2 separate regions of the Homo sapiens genome follow, and region 1 is linked to region 2. The links are contacts of gene promoters, found by promoter capture Hi-C in blood cells and fetal thymus (Javierre and others, 2016). All regions are on one chromosome and are shown on one strand. Each heading gives the region's core, a stretch centred on a gene start or on the middle of the fragment in contact. The rest is flanking DNA. Distances are from core to core; before and after follow the strand shown.

Region 1 (3,673 bases), core at 44-2,543, 360 kb after region 2:
GAGATCGCACCACTACACTACAGCCTGGGTGACAGAGTAAGACTCCATCTCAAAAAAAAAAAAAAAAAAAAAAAAAAGTGAATATGGGATGTTACTACACATGTGCTGTACCTTCCCTTCATGAATATTCATAGCTCCTCCTATAACCTGTTGAATATGTATACTGAGCCAAGCCATTCAGCGTTAACTCTGACCTTATCCTTCCCTTACTGGAGGTGCCTGCTCTCAGCTTCTACCGGAGGCTACACTTCTCGGCCTGTGAGATGGCCCGGCTGCAGGCTGCAACTCTTTATGAGAAATAAAGCTCTCCTTTCCAAATTTGTAAACCTGTATTAGTCTGTTCTCACGCTGCTGAAAAGAACTGCCCAAGACTGGGTAATTTATAAAGGAAAGAGGTTTAATTGACTCACAGTTCCGCAGGGTTGGGGAGGCCTCAGGGAACTTAAAATCATGGTGGAAAAGAAAGCAAAAACGTCCTTCCTCAGATGGCAGCAGGAAGGAGAAGTGCCAAGCAAAGAGGGAAAAGCCCCTTATAAAACCATCAGATCTCGTGAGAACTCACTATCTCAAGAACAGCAGCATGGGGGTAACCACCCCCATGATTCGATTACCTCCCACTAGGTCCCTCCCACAACACATGGGGATTTGGGGAACTACAATTCAAGATGAGATTTGGGTGGGGACAGCCAAACCATATCAAAACCTCATGATTCTTCAGTTGACATCTAATCTGAGCTACCATGGTCTATCAAAAAACCACAGCTCTTGAGGGGATCTCAATGGCTGTTAACAAACTGGTTAGAGTTCTGGTCAGGTTCTGATTGTAGAGAGCCTCTGTAACAGATATGGATTGCCTCCTTCCCCCCACCCTCCTTGTTATTTTTATTTCATTTTATTAAATTTTTTTTTGAGACAGGGTCACACTATGTCACCCAGACTGGAATGCAGTGGCACAATCTCAGCTCACTGCAACTTCTGGCTCCCAGGTTCAAGTGATTCTCATGCCTCAGCCTCCTGAGTAGCTAGGACTACAGGTGCATGCCACCATGCCCAGCAAATTTTTATATTTTTTGTAGAGACAGGGTTTTGCCATGCTGCCCAGACTGGTCTCAAACTCCTGAGCTCAACCAATCTGTCTGCCTTGGCCTCCCAAAGTGCTGGGATTATAGGCGTGAGCCACTGTTCCCAGCCATGATTTTTATTTAACAAATACTCATTATTTAACAAATACTTTCTGAGCACCTACTGTGTCCCAGGCATTGTCTTGGGAACGAGGAACACAACGGAGCAAGAGAAGTAAGGCCAACTTCTTCTCTGATGGAGCTTACATTCTAGTGGGAAAGAAAACTATAAACAAGTATACCCAAAAATAAACAAGATAATTACAGGGAATGGTAAATGCTATAGAGAAAAATAAAACAGAATAAGAAGCTAAAGTGGTGCCAGGACTGGTCCAGCAACTATTATGGTGTTGGGAGCAAGCCCCCCAAAATATGGCCATAAACTGACCCCAAGACTGGCCACAAACAAAATCTCCACAGCACTGTGACATGTTCATAATGGCCCTAACGCCCAAGCTGGAAGGTTGTGGGTTTACGGGAATGAGGGCAAGGAACACCTGGCCCGCCCAGAGTGGAAAACCACTTAAAGGCATTCTTAAGCCACAAACAATAGCATGAGCGATGTGTGTCTTAAGGACGTGTTCCTGCTGCAGTTAACTAGCCCAACCTATTCCTTTAATTCGGCCCATCCCTTCGTTTCCCATAAGGGATACTTTTAATTTAATATCTATAGAAACAATGCTAATGACTGGTTTGCTGTTACTAAATATGTGGGTAAATCTCTGTTCGGGGCTCTCAGCTCTGAAGGCTGTGAGACCCCTGATTTCCCACTTCACACCTCTATATTTCTGTGTGTGTGTGTTTAATTCCTCTAGCACCAGTGGGTTAGGGTCTCCCCAACCGAGCTGGTGTCTGCAATGGTGTGCCACCAGATAAGTACGGAAATTGCCAGCAAGTGTTTAGAAACACAGCAATTTGACATATCCATGACATCCAAGTATAGGATCAATGGATTTTCTTGTTGAACAGGGTAGAGACCAAAAGGATTGGTCCATGACAGGTTGGAAACATCAAACAAATGATCCTTCTCCATAGTTACAAGTAGTTTGAGATACACTGAGCTAGTGGGCAATGATGTCTACAAGGTATATTATTTAGAGTCATGCTAGCTGCTATAACAAATAAACCCCACCATTTCAGTAGCTCACAAAATAAAAGTTCTTTTTTTTTTTTTTTTTGAGACGGAGTTTCACTTTTGTTGCCCAGGCTGGAGTGCAATGGCACGATCTCAGCTCACAACAACCTCTGCCCCCTGGGTTCAAGCGATTCTCCTGCCCCAGCCTCCCAAGTAGCTGAGATTACAGGCATGCACCACCACACCCGGCTGATTTTTTTGTATTTTTAGTAGAGACGGGGTTTCTCCATGTTGGTCAGGCTAGTCTCAAACTCCTAACCTCAGGTGATCCACCTGCCTCAGCCTCCCAAAGTGCTGGGATTACAGGCATGAGCCATCACGCCCAGCCAGAAGCTCATTTCTTACTGTTCCTTTGAGCACATTCCAGCATCAGGGTCTTTCCACTTGCTGTTCCCACTTTGGGAACTCCATTTTCACAGTTTTCAAGTAGCTCTCACACTTTGGCTCTCACGTCTCAGCTCAAAGAACATCTTAGAAAGGCCTTCTGTGGCAGAGCCAGCAGGATGTTTATTGACTGCCTAGACCAGGACTACATTTCCCAGAGGCCCTTGCAGCTAGTTGAAGCCATAAGACAAGTTATGTTCAATGGACTGAGAGCAGAAGTGATGTATGTCACTTTAGGGTGAAGACTTTCAAGAAGCAGGTGCGAGTTCCTTATTCTCTCTTCTGCCTGGATTCAAAAGACTCTGAGCCCATAGAAGATGGTTGAATCACCTTATGGAAGAAGCCTGGATCCCTGAATTACTATGTGGATCAGGAGAAATGTCTGATGGGATGTTCTATGAGTAAGAAATGAGAAGACTCTTCTCAAACGTGGAAGGAGCTGCTGAAACCAAAATCACAAGTCCTAGAGAAGCTTCTTATTATCTCTCAGATGGTGGATGGGTTCCAAAAAGCATCCTGAAATTATCCAGAAAAACAGAAAAGAGATTTCAGATAAAGCAAAGGGAGAGAGATGCTGACAGAAGAAGACCAAGAGGCCACAGGGGCTCTGCTCCTTCAGGATCTAAGAAAGCAGGAAGGCACCAGTACCTCCCACCAAGGCCAACAGAACAGATACCATGAGAAAGGAACCAAGAAAAGGACAAATGGTGACATGTCTCCAAAACAAGGAGACATTGAGCATAAGAAGCAGAAAGTGAGGCCAGGTGCAGTGGCTCACACCTGTAATCCCAGCACTTTGGGAGGCTGAGGCAAGTGGATCACTTGAGGTCAGGAGTTTGAGACCAGCCTGGCCAACATGGTGAAACCCCGTCTCTACTAAAAATACAAAAATTAGCCGGGTATGATGGTGCATGCCTGTAATCCTAGCTACTTGGGAGGCTGAGGCAGAGAATTGCTTGAACCCAAGAGGTAGAGGTTGCAGTGAGCCGAGATTGTGCCACTGCACTCCAGCCTGGGCGACAGAGGGAGACTC
Region 2 (3,815 bases), core at 1,301-3,800:
TGAACTTCATCAAATTAAGAACTTTTGTGCACCAAAGGACACTATCAAGAAAGTGAAAAAACCTGGAGAATGGAAGAAAATATTTGCAGATCATATATCTAACAAGGGATTAATATTCAAAATATATATAGAACTCCTACAACTTGACAACAAAAAAACAAACAACCCAATTCAAAAATGGGCAAAGTACTTGAATAGACACTTCTCCAAAGAAGATATACTAATGGACAATAAATTCGTGGAAATATGCTCAACATCGTTAGTCATTGGGGAAATGCAGATTACAACCACAATGAGATGCCACTTCACACTAACCAGGATGGCCATAATCAAGAAAATGGATAATAAGTTTTGGTGGGGATGTGGAGAAATTGGAATCCTCCGTGCATTGCTGGTGGGAATGTACAATAGTGCAGTCATTGGGGAAAACAGTTTGGCAGTTCCTCAAAAGGTTAAAAATAGAACTACCAAGTCACCCAGCAATTCCATTCTTAGGCATATATTCAAAAGAAATGAAAGCAGATATTTGTACACCAGTGTTCACAGCTGCACTATTTACAATAGTCAAAAGGTAGAAACAACCTAGGTCCATCCACAAATGAATGGATAAATAAAACGTAGCATATACATACAATGGTACACTAGTCCGCTGTAAAAAGAAATTTTGATCTTACTGCATGCTACATGGCTTCGACATACTACAACATGGATGGACCTTGAAAACATTATTCTTTGTGAAATAAACTAGACACAGGACAAATGTTAGACGATTCCACTTATATGAGGCACCTAGAATGGGCAATTTGGTAAGCAAAGTAGAATAGAAATTACTAGGGGCACAGGTAGCAGGGAATGGGGAGTTACTGTTTAATGGTCACAGAGTTTATGTTGGGGATGATGAAACAGTTTCGGGGATAAAGAGTGGTGATTGGTACACGACATTGTGAATATACTTAATGCCACTGAATTTTACACTTGAAGTGGTTAAAGCGATAAATATTATAGTTTGCATATTTTATCATAAAAATATTTTTTTAAACGATGAAGGGACGTGAACGGGTTGAAATTTTATAAAAAGTGGCCAGGGAAGGTGTCACTGCAATGGTGTCCTACAGGAGGAGGAAGATCATGTGGACATCTGCGGGAAGGGTGTTCTGGCAGAGGGAGTAGCACGGGCGATGGCTCTGAGGACTGTGAGAAGTATAGTTGGAAACAGCGAGGAGGCCAGGGTGTCCGAAGCTGAGTAAGCCAGAGAGAGTGGGAGGAGGTGAGATAAGAGGGGGAAGGTCAGTTTCTGCTGAGAGTGAGGAGGAGCCACAGGAGGGCTGTGAGCAGGTGGACGTGATCTGGCTTGAGTTTTAACAGGGCCAGTAGAACAAAGCACGCCTGGGTACCGAAACCAGCCACTGGCCAGTTGGCAACCTGGGGGAGTCTAACGCGAGGAAGCGCCCAGGGTTCCCCCAGGATGCGCTTTCCCTCGCCGCCACCTGGAGACAGCAGAGTCACGCCCAGCGCTGCGCAGGCTGATCGCCGCGCCGCGCCCCCGCCCTCGGTCGCAGGTGGCTCGTTCCGGGAATTCCTAAGCGGAAACCGGTCCCAAGCCCCGCGCCTTCGCTCGGCCCCTTTAAGAGCCAGAATTTCCGGAGGGCTGACCCGGGGGCTAGGGATGCCCAGGGGCCGAACCACAAGTTGGGAACGGGTGGGGGAGGTGGCGAAAACTTCCGAAGTGGAATTCCAACTTTTCCTGGCCCTGATTCCCCTTGGGCATCCCTGAGGGGGCAGAGCTTCCCTTCCGGGGACTTTAGAGGGTTCCTCAGGTCATCTAACTGGGAGACACAGGAGGCCCGAAGCGCCCCCCCTCCACCCGGTCCGGAGGAACCCCAGTGGAAGTGGAGAAGTCAGGCGCCACCAACAAGCCTCTCCCAGCCAGGACTTTGCTTAGACTCGCTCCTCCCGGCAGGGCGCACCTAGGCGGGTCCATCGCCAGCCGGGGAGAGGGGTTTGGGCAGGGAGGGAACAGGTGCGCGGCGGGACCCGCCCTATCTCAACAGGTGAATCGCTCCAAGTGGGTCTCGGTTGCATGGATCTCGGTGCGCTTGGTTTGGCCGGAGCAGATGGGGGCCGGAAGGGACCTGTGGTCCGCAGGCGCCCTCCCAGCGGGCCAGTCACTTGGTTCGGGCCCTGGGGGACGGAGCGCACCTGGGTCAGCCCACTTCCGGGGAGGGAGGCAGAGGAACCCCTCCCCGCCGCTCACCCCTAAGCCCAGCCCTCGGCTCCCACCCTTGTGTACCTGGGCCGAACCATTCACCGGAGCGCGCAGCGGGTGGAGTGTGGCTCGGAGGACCGCGGCGGGTCAAGCACCTTTCTCCCCCATATCTGAAAGCATGCCCTTTGTCCACGTCGTTTACGCTCATTAAAACTTCCAGAATGCAACAGGACGGACTTGGAGTAGGGACAAGGAACGGAAGTGGGAAGGGGAGGAGCGTGCACCCCTCCTGGCCTTGGTGCGCGCCGCGCCCCCTAAGGTACTTTGGAAGGGACGCGCGGGCCAGACGCGCCCAGACGGCCGCGATGGCGCTGTTGGCCGGCGGGCTCTCCAGAGGGCTGGGCTCCCACCCGGCCGCCGCAGGCCGGGACGCGGTCGTCTTCGTGTGGCTTCTGCTTAGCACCTGGTGCACAGGTACGGGGCACGGGGCCTCTGACGCTGCGGAACGCCGGAGGGAACTGTAGAGGGGGATGGATGGAGTTGGAGGCGGCGGGAAGCGGGAAGCGGGGGTCTCAGAGGCTGGGACCTTCCGATCCCCTGGGTCTTGGGCGATCTGTTGCGCGCGGGAGTGAGAGGAATTCCCCATTTGTGCCGGGGAGCGCTCCCCGCGCCCTTATCTGGAAGATAGCAGGAAGTGAAACTCCCTGGACGGTGAGACCCGGAGCGGCAGGGAGAATGGAACTCTTTGTGGGGAGGGAGTGGAAGACCGCCCGATCTCTGGGAAAAGAAAAGCCGGGATGGGACTTGGGCGCACCCGGGGATTTCTAAGTTTTGGAGTAACGGGGAGAGGGCACGGGAGGGCTGGATCAGACGCTTCCTAGAGGGACAGAGACGAAGGAACAATGCCTAGGCCTCGGGTGGGTGTGGGACTGGGGACTCCCCATCCCCCGCACCCCACCCACCTCCCGCGGGCTCCGGATTATACGTGCGTAAGAGTCTGGTGGGATGGATTTACGGACTTGAAACCGACTTCTGCTGGCAGGCTTTCACCTGGATGGGATATTTGGGTGGTGATGAGGTCTTTCCCGAGACACTTTTGGTTCAGTCATTTGAAATGACTTTAGAGTAGGGTGAGGTGGTGGGAGGCTGATGGAGATATTGTGGGGGCTTTAGTCCCTCCATGGCAAAGCAGTTCAGGCAAACAACTCCATGGTTTTCCCTCCAAATTCAAAAGGCCCCGGGTAACCTGGAATCCTTCGTAGTCGGTTTTGAAGTGGGGCCTTGGGCGCTGGGGGCATCAACATGGCCATCTGGGCTTGCCTGCCCAGGCCACACAGAGGCCCCTTGTTGTGGGTGAATGGCAAAGGGAAGAGGGGACTGGTGTGGTTCAGAGGCCACAGGCTGGGAAGAGGGATGGCGGGCGAGTCCAAGGAAACTGGCCGTGTCACCGTGCACCTGCCACTTCAGCCCCACGGGTCTATAAAATGGGCATGATTATCGTGGCTACCTCACTGGTCCTGGCAATTAAGGAACAATGTGTGCCAGGCACTCTGTAAACCACATACTTGCGAGTGTCAAGCTGGTGACAGGTGGCGTTCCTGTTGAAGCA

The links. Contacts are between HindIII fragments. The CHiCAGO score rates a contact against its expected background, and 5 or more counts as called.
Region 1: a fragment that was not itself captured here is called in contact with the fragment with the promoter of LSR in region 2 in 1 of 17 cell types (naive B cells); the score reaches 5.3 in naive B cells.

The regions. Positions count from the first base shown.
Region 1 is chr19:35,605,648-35,609,320 of GRCh38, forward strand. It overlaps HAUS5-DT (HAUS5 divergent transcript), which reads right to left. Exons shown (of 2, transcript NR_186318.1): 2 at 2,742-3,156. Among named protein-coding and RNA genes, the nearest start is that of HAUS5-DT, 5.2 kb to the right of the region's middle. The HindIII fragment of the contact is 3,634 bases long and covers 1-3,110 here.
Region 2 is chr19:35,246,452-35,250,266 of GRCh38, forward strand. LSR (lipolysis stimulated lipoprotein receptor) reads left to right here and starts at 2,551. Exons shown (of 10, transcript NM_205834.4): 1 at 2,551-2,680. The coding sequence starts at 2,572. RefSeq lists enhancers at 1,135-1,304, 1,438-2,240, 2,241-3,042 and silencers at 2,155-2,234, 2,645-2,714. The HindIII fragment of the contact is 9,039 bases long and covers 1-3,815 here.